Linked DNA regions of Homo sapiens: region 2 is linked to region 1. Evidence: promoter capture Hi-C in human tissues and cell types (Jung and others, 2019). All regions are on one chromosome and are shown on one strand. Each heading gives the region's core, a stretch centred on a gene start or on the middle of the fragment in contact. The rest is flanking DNA. Distances are from core to core; before and after follow the strand shown. Region 1 holds the start of CTLA4 (cytotoxic T-lymphocyte associated protein 4). Region 2 overlaps ABI2 (abl interactor 2).

What was found. The method cuts DNA at HindIII sites, captures the fragments that hold promoters and counts their contacts. A contact is called where the count stands out against the background at its distance.
Region 2: a contact is called between a fragment that was not itself captured here and the fragment with the promoter of CTLA4 in region 1, in 1 of the 25 tissues and cell types used here (mesenchymal stem cells).

What each region holds. Positions count from the first base shown.
Region 1 is chr2:203,863,217-203,870,488 of GRCh38, reverse strand. It overlaps CTLA4 (cytotoxic T-lymphocyte associated protein 4), which reads right to left and starts at 2,718. Exons shown (of 4, transcript NM_005214.5): 1 at 2,438-2,718. The coding sequence starts at 2,546. The HindIII fragment of the contact is 1,698 bases long and covers 1,977-3,674 here.
Region 2 is chr2:203,417,286-203,424,557 of GRCh38, reverse strand. All of the region lies in intron 11 of ABI2 (abl interactor 2), which reads right to left. Among named protein-coding and RNA genes, the nearest start is that of ABI2, 93 kb to the right of the region's middle. The HindIII fragment of the contact is 6,605 bases long and covers 764-7,272 here.

The DNA of each region.
Region 1 (7,272 bases), core at 1,469-3,968:
TTTTCTCCCCCCTTCAACGAATCTATCACTTACCCCTTCCCCTCTCCACACCCCCAGCCTCCCCTCCATCTCTCAACTGTTTTCCAGCTACTCTCCATAAAGATATTTTCTTACTGAGAAATAGATTCTTCAAGATGGTTGTGGCAGGAAGAACACTGATATGACAAACAGAAGACCTGGCTCTACCATGAAATATGTGATTTGGGGCAAGTCACACTTCCCCCATGTCCTTCATTTTTTTCACATATAGTAAGAGATAATTAGATGAGATGATATGTTCTCTGGTATTCTAAGGTTATGATAGAATGATAGGAGCTATATAGCTCCGGAACTATAATGAGTGGTAGGGGAAATTCTGAAGGTTGAGGTACAGAATCTTGCTTTATCTCTCAAAGTATATGTCAAAAACTTCTGCCTACTTAGTGAGCTGGCCCTGAACCTCTGTCACCCAGGAGTAGCTGTGTCTTGATGCACTGTACCAGCCTCCGCCTTCCCTGGCATTGTTGTAGAGTGGAAGATGTTGTTAGATGAAGGAAGCCACAGAGCCGAGGGCACCAGGTCGCTTCCTCTCTAGGTTGAGGCAACCCTGCTGTTAACTCCTGTGGGCTTCCCCTGACACCACCGCTGCCTCTCTGCCCTTTATTTCTCCTTCCCTTGAACACTCCCATGCTCCTTTGTTCTCTTTTCCCACAGGATAAAGGAGACCAGCTCTCCATACAGAGAGGCTTGCATCAACTCAAAAATAGTGGCTGCATGCCAAATTACCTTCCTGTAACTAACCAGGCCCCTCTCCAGTCAGTCTGACAAGTGAAACTCAAAACTTGTGTTGCATGATGTCACTCATCTGCTCAATCCCTTTGACACTTTACTAACACTGATCGCAAAAACAAATACAATAAATAACATTCAATGAGTCCCCCATGATCCAATTCCAATCTATCACTCTGGTCTGAATTTCTAGGACACACTTTCCTGCTTATAAATCACCCTATATTAGAGACACTAGTCCCTTCCACCAAGCCACTTGCACGGGACATCTGTCCTCAGAAGAGAAAACAGTTTGGCAGCAGCCATTGTCATGTCTATTCCAGCAGCTCTAGCTAGCTAGACTACAGCTTCCTTCCCTAACCCTCACCTCTGCCTATCAGAGATGCCCTCTGAGCATCCTTAGCACTGTGATAACTCCATTGCAGTAGTTCATTACTTTCTGCTCTGTATTAAAGTTATTTGTGAGCTAATCATATCTCCTCACTCTTTTACTTGTGGTTCATGAACTCCTGTGAGCAGTGATTATAGCCCACCCAAGTGAGCACTCAATAATCTTTATTGTATTGACTCTAAGCTTAAGAAATCCTAAATGTCCTGCCCTCTCCCCAAGCAAGCTCACACTCATCACCACTAAATGCGGTCACACTCAACTTTCCAGTATTGGGAGGGTCCTGTTACTGGTTGAGATAAATTTACTTTAGGAAATTTAAATACTTCTAAGAGTGTTTATTTAATCTTTACATATTTAAAACATGTAAAAATAAGAAAACATATATGAATATTTCTTCTCCAGTAAAAATTAAATCATCAAATATCTTTTGAGTACCTACTTCATACAAACTACATGGTTTCTTAACCAAGAAGGTCTAGAGAGAGATAAGGTTGAGATTCAATGGATATACTCATCATTTTAAGCCGTGTAACAAACCTGGTGTCAGTCTCTGAAGAGCTGAAAACTGAGGATCTGCATCTGAAACCCACACGTAGGTCAGGCAACAATTAAGTATTGTATGCCAAACAGACTGGTGGCTTTCTTTCTTTCCTTTTCCTTGTCTTTTTTTTTTGGCAATTTCAAACTTTTATTTTTAAATAATTGGCTAATTAGCTAGTAGAATTGATTAAGAGAACCTTAAAACCTTGAATTAAGTAAAGAAGGCATTCTTCCCACAATTTCCCTACATTTTAAACAAGCTGGCTAATTCATTTATAAAGTATATGAATCCGAGGACCTTAAAACCTTGAATTGTATAGCAAAAAAACTCTTCCCAGGATTTGCTTAAGTCAATTTTTTTTAAAGGAACTTGTGAGCTCATCCTGAAACCCAGCTCAAATGTATTCAGGACTATGGCTATCCTTTCCCTCTTAAATCACTTCCAGTCTCATAGAAGGGTCTGAAATTGCCTGTGTCTCTCTACTAAACCAACTCACATGCATTCATGAAGCCCCTACTAAATACCTGGCGCTCTGTTCTGAGCTATCTCTTTGCCTTATTTGCTGCCGCCCAACTGCTCCCTGCTGGCCCTGGAATACAGAGCCAGCCAAGCCAGATTGGAGTTTTACCTTTAACTTCTGGCTTTGCTATAAATCACTGCCTTTGACTGCTGAAACAAATGAAACCCAGGTAGGAGAAACACCTCCTCCATCTTCATGCTCCAAAAGTCTCACTCACCTTTGCAGAAGACAGGGATGAAGAGAAGAAAAAACAGGAGAGTGCAGGGCCAGGTCCTGGTAGCCAGGTTCAGCTGAGCCTTGTGCCGCTGAAATCCAAGGCAAGCCATGGCTTTATGGGAGCGGTGTTCAGGTCTTCAGGAAGTAGAGCAAAACCTTTCAGGATCCTGAAGCTTTGAAATGTGTTTGAACCCACACAGAATCAAGGACTTTATATAGATAGCTTTGATCCCAGATATGTATTACACATGTGCACACACAGAAGGCACTTGAATAGAAAGCCTTTTTGTTTTGGTTTTACGAGAAAGGAAGCCGTGGGTTTAGCTGTTACGTCGAAAAGACAACCTCAAGCACTCAACTGAACAAAACAAGCCAATCCATGGATGGAAAATGTATTCAATTTGAAACTGAAGCTTCATGTTCACTTTGAGGATCTGGATAACTAAGTGGAGACTTGGAGAATTTCCTGGAGTACAAGGGTCCTCCTAAATCCCAATTTTATTCAATCTTCTGGGCATCCTTAACCATCCAGTCCAATTCATTTCATTGACAACTCCAAAACTACTAGGCTGCTAACTTTCTGAGCCCTTGGGCTAATGGCAGGATTTGTCTAGGCATCATTAATAAAAACTGTATTCTATCTGTGAAGCACCATCCTTCTAATGGTCCCTTGACAGCTTTACAAATAAGTTTATTTCTCCTAAATCCATTTAGCATTTGGTTAAGAGAAAAAAACTAAAATCACAAGAAATAAACTGAAAATAGGCGGAAAAGAAGCTGCCTCTGGTTTTGCAGAAGGAAAGAATTCAGGTGTTCTTAAAAGCCTTAACTCAACAGAGACAAAACAGAGTTGAAGAAGGTCCAAAGAAAAGCCAACCCAAATGATTCAAGAGATTAGAGCCGTCCATAAAAGGATAGACTTTTTTTTCTAATACAAATTTTTCAAGCAGAAAATTCAAAAGTGAAGATTAAATATAACCAGAGTCCTTAAATTTGTGACAGCTGTAGACAGGACCAATGATCTAACAAAAAGAATTTGAAACATTGAGGACCTTCCTTAAATCTGGAGAGTTTTCATACATTTTAATAAAGAAAGAAACATTCATGGGGAACCTGTAATATGCCCGGAATTCTGTGCACTTAGGATTGAATGATGACAAAACAAAAACATAGTTGATACCTTAAGGGGCTTCTAGAAGGCTGACATGCAAACAGACAGTTGTAACAGGGAATATGACATTTGCCTACTCCAGTCCGTCCATGGTTTCCCATTGTCCACACCTCAGCACAGCAGAGGAGACTCTGCAGAATACTCACCAAATGCCTCCCTCTTTGGCCTGTACCCCAGCATTCCCTCCCATTCCCCCTTCCTGCATTTGTCTTTCCTTCCACGTGCCTCTTTCAGGCCTCATCACCTTTACCCATGCTGTTCCTACTGCCTTTTTTCTCCTATTATCTTATTTTATACTCCTTCTCATCCTCCAGGACTTAGCTCAGCTGTCATCTCCTCCAGGAAGCCTCTTCTTTTTTTTTTTAAAATTTTATTATTATTATACTTTAAGTTTTAGGGTACATGTGCACAACATGCAGATTTGTTACATATGTATACATGTGCCATGTTGGTGTGATGCACAGAAGCCTTTTCTGACCTGCCTGTTTTCTATACACTGCTACACATTATAGAAACCTTCAAGCCCCAGCTCAAGCGCCAACAAGCAATAACAACCTAATGGGCACTTCCTAATGCCAGACTGGGCAACAGAGGTTTTTTAAAAAGTGAAAAACAAATGTTCCTGCCCTCAAGAGGAACACACAGCAGTGGCAGGGACAGACAGCTAAACCCATGATCATGATAGAGTGAGATCAATGCTGGAATTGAAGTATTATGTAGAGGAGCAGAAGCCAGTGGTTCAGCCTGTGGAAGTCAGAAAGGGCTTCTCAGAAGACGAAAAGCCTGAACTTATTATTGAGAACAGAGAAAAGGGTGGATATTCAGACAAGAAGAATAACATGGGCTAAAGTTGGAAACGGCATGAAGAGTTCATTATGGTCACAGGACAAAGCTTGTCTGGGGATGAGCAGAAGGTGCAAGCGGATGCTCTTAGCAGCAAGGGCCAATGAAACATAAGGAGCAAACTGGTATGACTGAGTTCACATTTGGGGGAAATTTTAGGGATGGGGAGGATGGGTTCAGGGAGAAATGTAACCAGGAAGACTGGGAAGAAGACTATTGGAATACGCCAGGCACCAGGATTTGGAAAGCTTTCTGAAGGGGGCAAAATAGTAAATATGTTATGATTTGCAAACGGTGGGGTCTCTGTTGCCACTACTCAACTCTGTCATTTTAGAATGAAAGAAGCCATATATTATATGTAAACAAATGGGTGTGTGTGCATTCCAATAAAACTTCATTTACGAAAATAGGTGAAGTCTGGATTTGGCCTGTGGGCCATGGTTTGCCAACCCCTGGTCTAAACTAAGGTAATGACAGCTGTGAAGACGAGGTCCCTATGGGACTAGTCCACAATCAGTGAGTGGAAGGAGAAGTTTAGAATGAATGACACCAGAATTATGGTTTGAGAAGTACTGTGGTGCTGCAGAAATTATTCAAATGTCAAGTTTTCTTTCTTTTCTTTTTTATTTTTTTGAGACAGAGTTTCACTCTTGTTTCCCAGGTTGGAGTGCAGTGGCGCGATCTCGGCTCACTGCAACCTCTGCCTCCTGGGTTCAAGTGATTCTCCTGCCTCAGCCTCCCAAGTAGCTGGGATTGCAGGCACCCACCACCACGCCCAGCTAATTTTTTGTATTATTTTAGTAGAGATGGGGTTTCGCCATGTTGACCAGGCTAGTCTCAAATTCCTGACCTCAGGTGATCTACCCGCCTCGGCCTCCCAAAGCGCTGGGATTACAGGCGTGAGCCACCGCGCCCAGCAAGTTTTGTTTCTTTCAAGTCCATAACAACCCTACAAGACAAGAGTTACCATTTTTCCCATTTTATAAAGAAGGAAATCAAGGCATTGAAAGTTAAGGTGACTTACCCAATCACCCGTAGGAAGTGGCAGAGCCAGGATTTGAAGCCAGTGATACCTTTATCACTATGCTAAAGCAAAGATTTTGAAGCCCAAGATAACTGGATTTGTATCCTAGCATGGGGACTTGCTTACTGTTGACCTGGGGCTCAAAGCCCAATGTCCTCCAGATAATGGCATCTAATTCTCAAGATTATTGAAAAGATTAAATGAGATAATGCATGTAACATGTATAAAAGGCCTATTGTAACAGATAGCCACTCAATAAATAGGCCTTTCTTATTATAGGGTCAATGAGAAGACAGAGGTGCAATTTACTGGAATAAATAACAGGAAGAGCAGGTGAGAAAGTGAAATGACAGCTTTCATCTGAGTATGTTGAGTTTATGGCATCCATGGAAAATAGTTGCCAATAGGATTCTGGAGCACAGGAAGAGACATTAGTTTAGGCAACTATGAAGCCACTGATGAAAATGTCACAGGCCAAGCCACAAAACGAGCATTCTTTAAACATTTGTTAAATAGGTAGGTAAATGAATGAAGACAGTTTAACATAAGAAGAGATGAGGGTTGTAATTAGAACTTTCAAAGACGTCTTACCAGATTCCTTAATTATGCTCTTATGAAACTAATTCTGTCATAGCAAGAAAATTCAAATGGTTGTAAAAAAAATGCTGGGTAAAAGAATCTTGGTGAGAAAAGATATATTCACATATACCACCCCACAGATTACTTGATAATTACAATAGGGAAAAGATAATTGATAAATCTAGCAGATACTGCTTTAACCAAGTGATCCCAACTGAAGATTACTGTGATGGAGTGTTCTGACATAGGGTACCTCCAGATACAATACACTGAGAAGGACACAACAACTTTGTGTAGTTATTGCCAAAATTGTTTTAACTGAATCTAAGCATGAAGAAATAATCAGACAAATCCATATTCTGCAAAATAACTGGCCTAGATTCTTCAAAAATGTTAACATCACAAAAGATTAAAAAGGGAAAAGCCTGGAAAACCATTCTAGATTAAAGGAGAAAATAGAGACATGATGACAGAATTTAATGTGTTATTATTGATTGAAAAAAATAATACAAAGCAGATTACTGAGAAACTGGGGGAAATTTGAGTATAGCCTATATTTCATAATAGCATTGCCTTAATGTTTAATTTCCTGAATGTGATCATCGTACTGGGGTTATGTAGAGAACCATCCTTGTTTATAGATAATACTTAGGTATTCGAGGTTTAAGTGTCAGAATGTCAGCAAGTACTCTCAGAAGGTTCAGCAAAAATATGTGTCTGTGTTAGCAGAGAAAGATAAAAAGAATTAAACAGCAGTGATGGAATTTTAACAATTGGTGAATCTAGGTGAAGAATATGTGTGTATTCATGGTACTATTCTTACAAATTCTTTGTAAATTTGAGGTTTTTCAAAAAAATTCGAAGTAAAAATTATAAGGCCAACTATTTATATTATTGATAATATGGTAGGCAATAAACGAGGGATGAGCAAACTGAAATTTAGAGAGGAAAAGTGACTTGCCGAAGGTGATTCTCCATCCCCTTTCCTCAGATCCAAGCTCCACCTGGGACAGACCCCTGTAGAAAATGTCTCATTAGTTCCCTGTCAGGGTGGCTTCTGAGGGCTTAGCATTGGAAGTTCCCAGCACATCAGAAAGCACAAGGTGGAAGTCCAGGTCTTTCTTCCCTGCCCTCTCCCAGGTTCAGGGCCATGTGTCTGGTAGTAACAGTACCTCTCCACAAGTACAGCTCTTGTTTGGTGGCCCTTGTTCTATGATGC
Region 2 (7,272 bases), core at 2,817-5,316, 450 kb after region 1:
CCAGGCATGGTGGTGCACGTCTGTGGTCCCAGCTACTTGGGAGGCTGAAGCAGGAGGATCGCTTGAGCCCAGAAAGTTGAGGCTGCAGTAAGCACTGAACGTACCACTGCACTCCAGCCCAGGTGACAGAACGAGACCCTGATAAGTAATTTTTAAATGAATATTCATTTTCACTCCAGGGAAAGATATACACCAGTAGTTTACTTCACTCCAGGGAAAGATATACACCAGCAGTTTACTTCATCTAATTCTTTACTGTAAAGCCATTCATCAAAAAGCAAAATACTCTTGATTTAGTGCAACAAACTTTTATCAAAGTAACTCTAAAGCGGTGTAATAAAGTATCTGTGTTTTCACCAATATTCAAAATACCGATGTTGAGAAATGTAAAATCTGTCTAGATTTTATTTAGTCTGGAAAACTGGTTTTGGCAATAGGGAAGAAAGTCACTTTTTCCAATTATGCATGTATATCACGCATAGTATCAAAATCATATGGGGAACTGATAAAGCACATGTAAGAAAAAACTTAAAATGCTAGACATCTGGTTTTTGTGCAGTTATGACTGAAACAGAAAAGGACTTACACATTGTTCTTCTAAATGTTTCTGCTAAAGTAAAAATACATTCTAAATTTCAAAGTACATTGTTCATATTTAGCATTTCAATTGAATACATTCTAGAATATTTTATGAAGGTCTGTAAAACTGAAAAAAACTTCTTAGCTTAAATGATTCTCTTTTTAATTTTAATCCTATAATTTTATATGAAGTATGCTGCAGAGTTAAAGATAAGCAAAGAATAATGGTACCATGCCAGCAGAAAAGGACCCAGATTGGGCTGGGCGCGGTGGCTCACGCCTGTAATCCCAGCACTTTGGAAGGCCAAGGTGGGCAGATCACAAGGTCAGGTTTGAGACCAGCCTGGCCAATATGGTGAAACCCCGCCTCTACTAAAAATGCAAAATTTAGCAGGCATGGTGGCCGGCGCCTGTAGTCCCAGCTACTCGTGGGGCTGAGGCAGGAGAATGGCGTGAACCTGGGAGGCGGAGGTTGCAGTGAGCCGAGATTGCACCACTGCACTCTAGCCTGAGCGACAGAGCGAGACTCCGTCTCAGAAAAAAAAGGACCCAGATGATTTTTTCTCTCCTAAAATAGTAAATTGAAACAAAGAGGAGCAATCTAAACATAAAACTCTCTACACTATAAACTCCTGGAGGTAAGGGCCCATCACTCATCTCTGTGTATCCCTAGCGCCTAACACAAGGCCTAGCTTTTTGGATACTTCTAAATACATCTATATTCTATATTATTCAGTTACACAGTGAGTAATAAAGGTAACTTAAATACATATTGGGGGAAAAATTAAGGTGATACTAAAATAACAATGTAAAACAAAAAGGCCCAAAAGGAGCATGTTACATAGAAGTGACTGATCTGAACTAAAAAGACTGACCACCAAATATTGTAGGGTATTAGCAACCACACCTAACAATTAAGTACCCTAAACTAGCAAGCCACTGGAAAAATCAAAATGCTAGTAAGATTATCCATTTCAATATACTGTTTGTATTAAATTACATATTGTGAGTTGACATCATTTTATTTATATGGAAAAAAGTTCATCCTAAGCCAGCAAAACATTTAACATACTTTGGAATTTATGTTATAACCTGTCCTGAGGTAGAGCAAAGTTAACCTGGACACTATCAATGAAGAGTTGGTTAAACCACTTAATGTATTCTAAGAAATGTTTTAGAACCCACTGGAGATGCTGTTTCAATGAAAATAATGCTGCTTAACTAATACAGCCATATTCCTTCTGCCCCTACCACTCCAATGAAACTATTCACTTGAAAAAAACTGGCCTTCTACTTTTGAGCCTCTTCTCAGTTCTTTGTCTAATGTTCCTGTAGTGTTTGGCAATGATGATTACCTCTGCCTGCTTCTTGACATTTTCCTCCATGGCTTCCATGACAGTGTCTTCTCCCAGTTATCTGATTACTACGCTTCTGTGGAGCCAGGAAACTAGGAGTCATCTTTGCCTTCCCCTCACTCACCTTCCCCGACATCCCCAAGTCCTGTTAATTCCACCTTCTAAATCTCCCAAATACCAACACTCGACTTCTCTCCATCATCATAGTCACCGCCCCAGTTAGTGCACCCATCTTTAAAATTGATTACATTTATCACTCAGGGTACCTGAGATTTTCTAAGCAGTGTGGGTGGCAGACAGTTTATAGGGACTCTCGATATTTTTTTTCTTTTTATTGAGACAGAGTCTTACTGTCCCCAGGCAGTGGTGCAATCGCAGCTCACTGCAGCCTTCAAACTCCTGGGCTCAGGTGATGCTCCCACCTCAGCCTCCAGAGTAGCTGGAACTACAGGCATGCACCACCATGTCTGGCTAAGTTTTCTAATTTTTTGTAGAGACGAGGGTATCGCCATGTTGCCCAGGCTGGTCTTGAACTCCTCGTCTCAAGCAATCCGCCGGCCTCAGCCTCTTAAAGTGCTTTACAGCACTTTAAGGGATTACAGGTGTGAGCCACTACATGCAACTGGCTCTCTTTCTAGATTTTTTTTTTTTTTTTTTTTGAGACAGAGTCTCACTCTGTTGCCAGGCTGGAGTGCGGTGGCGAGTGATCTTGGCTCACTGCAAGCTCCACCTCCTGGGTTCAAGTGATTCTCCTGCCTCAGCCTCCTGAGTTGCTGGGACTACAGGCGTGCACCACCACACCCAGCTAATTTTTGAACTTGTAGTAGAGGTGGGGTTTCACCATGTTGGCTGGATGGTCTTGATCTCTTGACCTTGTCATCTGCCGGCCTTGGCCTCCCAAAGTGCTGGGATTACAGGCGTGAGCCACCATGCCTGGCCTCTTTCTAGATTTTCTAATCTTAAGTACTGCTTCCTAAAATTGATCTGCTTGAGATCATACCTTCAGTCAAGCAGTCATAAAAGTTTTTATATCCTTTTTGTCCTTCTACTTAAAAAAAGCACAGTGGTGCACTGTCTTAAAGTACAAAACACTGGGTGCCAAAGGGACCATTCAAAATAATGGTGCTCATATTAAAAGAATTACTCCACTGAGTAACTCAATCCGTTTGCAAATCAGGTGGCTCTTATTCCTTTGCTTTCAACAAAATTTAAGAAAGACCTTGATGATACATCATCAAACATGATTTTTGAAGATACGTTATTTGATTTTTGGCAAATAACTTTGAAAAGTGCAGTTACAATGCCACTTGAAAAATCCTTCTATTTGTATCTGCTTATTTATGTAAACAATCTTTTCAGCACCACTACCTTGGTTGAGGCCATTATCCCTTGCTTCAAAGTTTATCCAAAATGGTCTTTACAACTCCTACTTTTCCTCTCCAATGCACTCTACACTATTATCAGGTATCTCCAAAAAAAGTTACATAAGTAGATGGATATTATCATTAACCTTTTTAAAAATCCTCCATAATTTCCCTCTACTACCAGATTTTTTTTTTAATCCAACACCTTCGCATTGTCATTTTTAGCCACCCACCACCTAATTACAATTTATTCCCTTTGCGTGCTCATATCACCCTCTCTCCCTACAACCCACCCCCACCCTCATGCACTGGACACTGCTCTGCCCCAAACAGCCATGCCCTCTCACTCACGTGATTCCCTCAGCTTGGAAGGCCCTTCCTTTCTCTCTTCTCTGCCTGAGAAACTCCTATTCATCATTCAAGGCACCAAGAACGCCATGTTCTCTGAGAAGCTTTCTAGGAATTCCCCAGAAAGAATTAATGGCACTATTCATTTTTTAACAATCATTAATAGAGCATCCATGCTGACTTTTAGAGGTACGAAGATGAACCAGATAAGGGACTGTCGGCTGGGCGTGGTGGCTCACACCTGTAATCCCAGCACTTTGGGAGGCCGAGGTGGGCGGATCACAAGGTCAGGAGATTGAGACCATCCTGGCTAACATGGTGAAACCCTGTCTCTACTAAAAATACAAAAAATTAGCCGGGTGTGCTGGCAGGTGCCTGTAGTCCCACCTACTCAGGAGGCTGAGGCAGGAGAATGGCGTGAACCTGGGAGGCAGAGCTTGCAGTGAGCCAAGACCGTGCCACTGCACTCCAGCCTGGGCAACAGAGCAAGACTCCGTCTCAAAAAAAAAAAAAAAGGGACTGTCACAGTCTTGTGAAGACAGAAATGTTATCTGACAATTCCTATATATCATTTATACTTCTAGCTAAAAGCTGTATCACTGAGCCAGAAGAACAAAAGAATAGATGGCTTTACAAAAGTTAAGAGATACAAAACGGGCAGTAAAAAAGTTTTCCAGGGAGGACTTAATGCTCATAAACTGTAAAGCCAAGACTCAATCCTAGGTCTGCCAGATGCCAGAGCTCACGTTTAGGACAATGGTTAAGAGTGTGGGGTCTAGAGTTATACCACCCAGTCAAATCCCAATTCTAACACTTAACTATTAATAGTTTACAGTACATACTTAACTTTCCTAGGCTTCTTTTTATTCAACTATATAATGGGAATTACAATAGAGCTAACATTTCAAAGCATGTTTTTCTTGGAGATGGAGTTTCGCTCTTGTTGCCCAGGCTGGAGTGCAATGGGGCGATCTCAGCTCTCCCCAACCTCCGCCTCTGGAGTTCAAGTGATTCTCCTGCCTCAGCCTCCCGAGTAGTTGGGATTACAGGCATGCATCACCATGCCCAGCTAATTTTGTACTTTTAGTAGAGACGGGGTTTCTCCATGTTGGTCAGGCTGGTCTCCAACTCCCAACCTCAGGTGTTCGGCCCGCCTCAGCCTCCCAAAGTGCTGGGATTACAGCCCAAAGCATTCTTATATTAAACAAGGCAAACCACATAAAATACAAAGCACAGGCTGGGCGCAGTGGCTCACGCCTGTAATCCCAGCACTTTGGGAGGCAGAGGTGGGCAGATCACGAGGTCAGGAGATCGAGACCATCCTGGCTAACACGGTGAAACCCCGTCTCTACCAAAAAAAAAAAAAATACAAAAAATTACCCAGGCATGGTGGCAGGCGCCTGTAGTCCCAGCTACTCAGCAGGTTGAGGCAGGAGAATGGCGTGAACCCGGTAGTCGGAGCTTGCAGTGAGCCAGGATCACACCACTGCACTCCAGCCTGGGCGACAGAGCGAGACTCTGCCTCGTGGCTCACGCCTGTAATCCCAGCACTTTAGGAGGCCTAGGCGGGCGGATCATGAGGTCAGGAGATCAAGACCACCGTGAAACCACGTCTCTACTAAAAATACAAAAAAATTAGCGGGGCGCGGTGGTGGGCGCCGGTAGTCCCAGCTACTCGGGAGGCTGAGGCAGAAGAATGGCGTGAACCCGGGAGGTGGAGGTTGCTGTGAGCTGAGATCACGCCATTGCACTCCAGCCTGGGCAACAAGAGCGAAACTCCGTCTCAAAAAAAAAAAAAAAAAAAAGATCTTTAATTTAGGAAGGATATTTTTGCTAAGTAAAGAACACTGGGTTGACATTTTCCTTCATTACTTTGAAGATTTTGCTCAATTCTCTGACTTAACAGCTTTTTGATGAGAACCATGCAGTCATTCTTATCTTTGTTCCTCTGTATGTAATATGTCATTTTTCCTCTGATTATCTTTAAGATTTTCTAAGGTACTGGTTTTTAGCAAATTGATTATGATGTGCCTTGGCAAGATTTTCTTTTCTTCTATTTGGGGTTTATTGAACTTCTTGGATCTGTGAGTTTATAGTTTTGTGGGAGACAACTTCTAAAACAGCTCCCAATGATTTCTGCCTCATAGTATTCATGCCTTTATGTAATCCCTACCCCTTCAGTGTTGACTAATCCTATTAACTTGCTTTAATGAACAGAAAATGGCAAAAATGACAGGTCATCGCTGCTGGGTTAAGGTGAAAAAAGGACTAGTGTCTTGCTTGCATTCTCTTTTTGGCGCTTCTTGCTTGTTCATTCTAATGAAGTTAGCTGCCATGTTGTGAGCTGCCCTACGGAGAAGCCTATGTGATCCAGAATTGTGGGCAGCCTCTGGCCAACAGCCAATGAAGAAGCCGAGGCCGTCAGGCCAACAACCCACAAGGAACTAAATCCTGCCAATAACCACGAGTGAGCCTGAAAGCAGTCTCCCTCAGTCAAGCCCTGAGATCACTGCAGCCTCAGCTGATACCTTGATTGCAGCCGTGTGAAGAGTCCCTGAACCAGAGGGCCCAGCTGAGCCACGCAGAGAAACTGGGAGATAATGGATGTTTTGTTTAAGCCACTAAATTTTTGGAATAACTTGTTAGGTAGCAATACACAACTAATATAGTTTTCATCAAACGTGGAAATATTTTGTCTATGATTGTTTCAACTCTTTTTCCTCTCACATCTCCTGGGGACTCCAATTACACATACATAAAGACTATCTGACCTTGTCTCACATTATCTGTTGCTCTGTTTTCCTTTTTGCCTTTTTTTCCACTTTCTTCTCTGTGCCTTATTTTGGATAGTTTCTATTGTCATGGCATCAAGGTTGCTAATGCTTTCTTCTGCAGCATGTGTTTTTCGTCTCCAGAAATATTATGTTTCTCTTTCTCTCTCTCTCTCTTTTTAAAGATATATTCCACGTCTCTCTCATGTTCATGTTCTCCTTTACTTTCTTGATCACATGTGGTATTTATAGTAGCTACATAAAGAAAAAAATTAATTTCCTTCTCTCCAGTGCCTGTTGTTCAATGTCTGAAAACCATTATTTTGTGGGGTTTTAAAATTCCTGTTTTAGGAGGGAGGGTACACCTGATTACTGTTGCTCTCTCTTGGCCAAAAGTGGAAGCCTATTATTTCTTTATAAAAGCTCTCCAAGTGATTCTAATGTGTAGCCAGCTTTGAGACTCAGTGGGTTAGTAGCTTTGATTTTCTTAAAAGAAAATTTCCTTCCAGACAGCACACATTTTTTTCTGAGCTGATTAGTCTTGATGGATTTGAAAGCTTGTATCCCAAAGTGCTACATCATAATTAGCTAATATCAAAGAAGCTTTTCACTAAAAGAAATGCCCAATATTACTTGGCAAAGAAACTGAGAAACCATTATTCTGTGGAAGAAAGTTTCATGTGGAGACATTTAAACTGAAGTATCTGATTATAAGGTGACACAAACTAATGTTCTAAAGCATGGAGGTAGGAATAATAATGTGGAAAAATAATCTTCCTGAGGCCAAAGGAAAACAGAAAAACACTGATAGAAACCATTCATAAAAAGCATGTCCAATAGGAACAATATAGATAA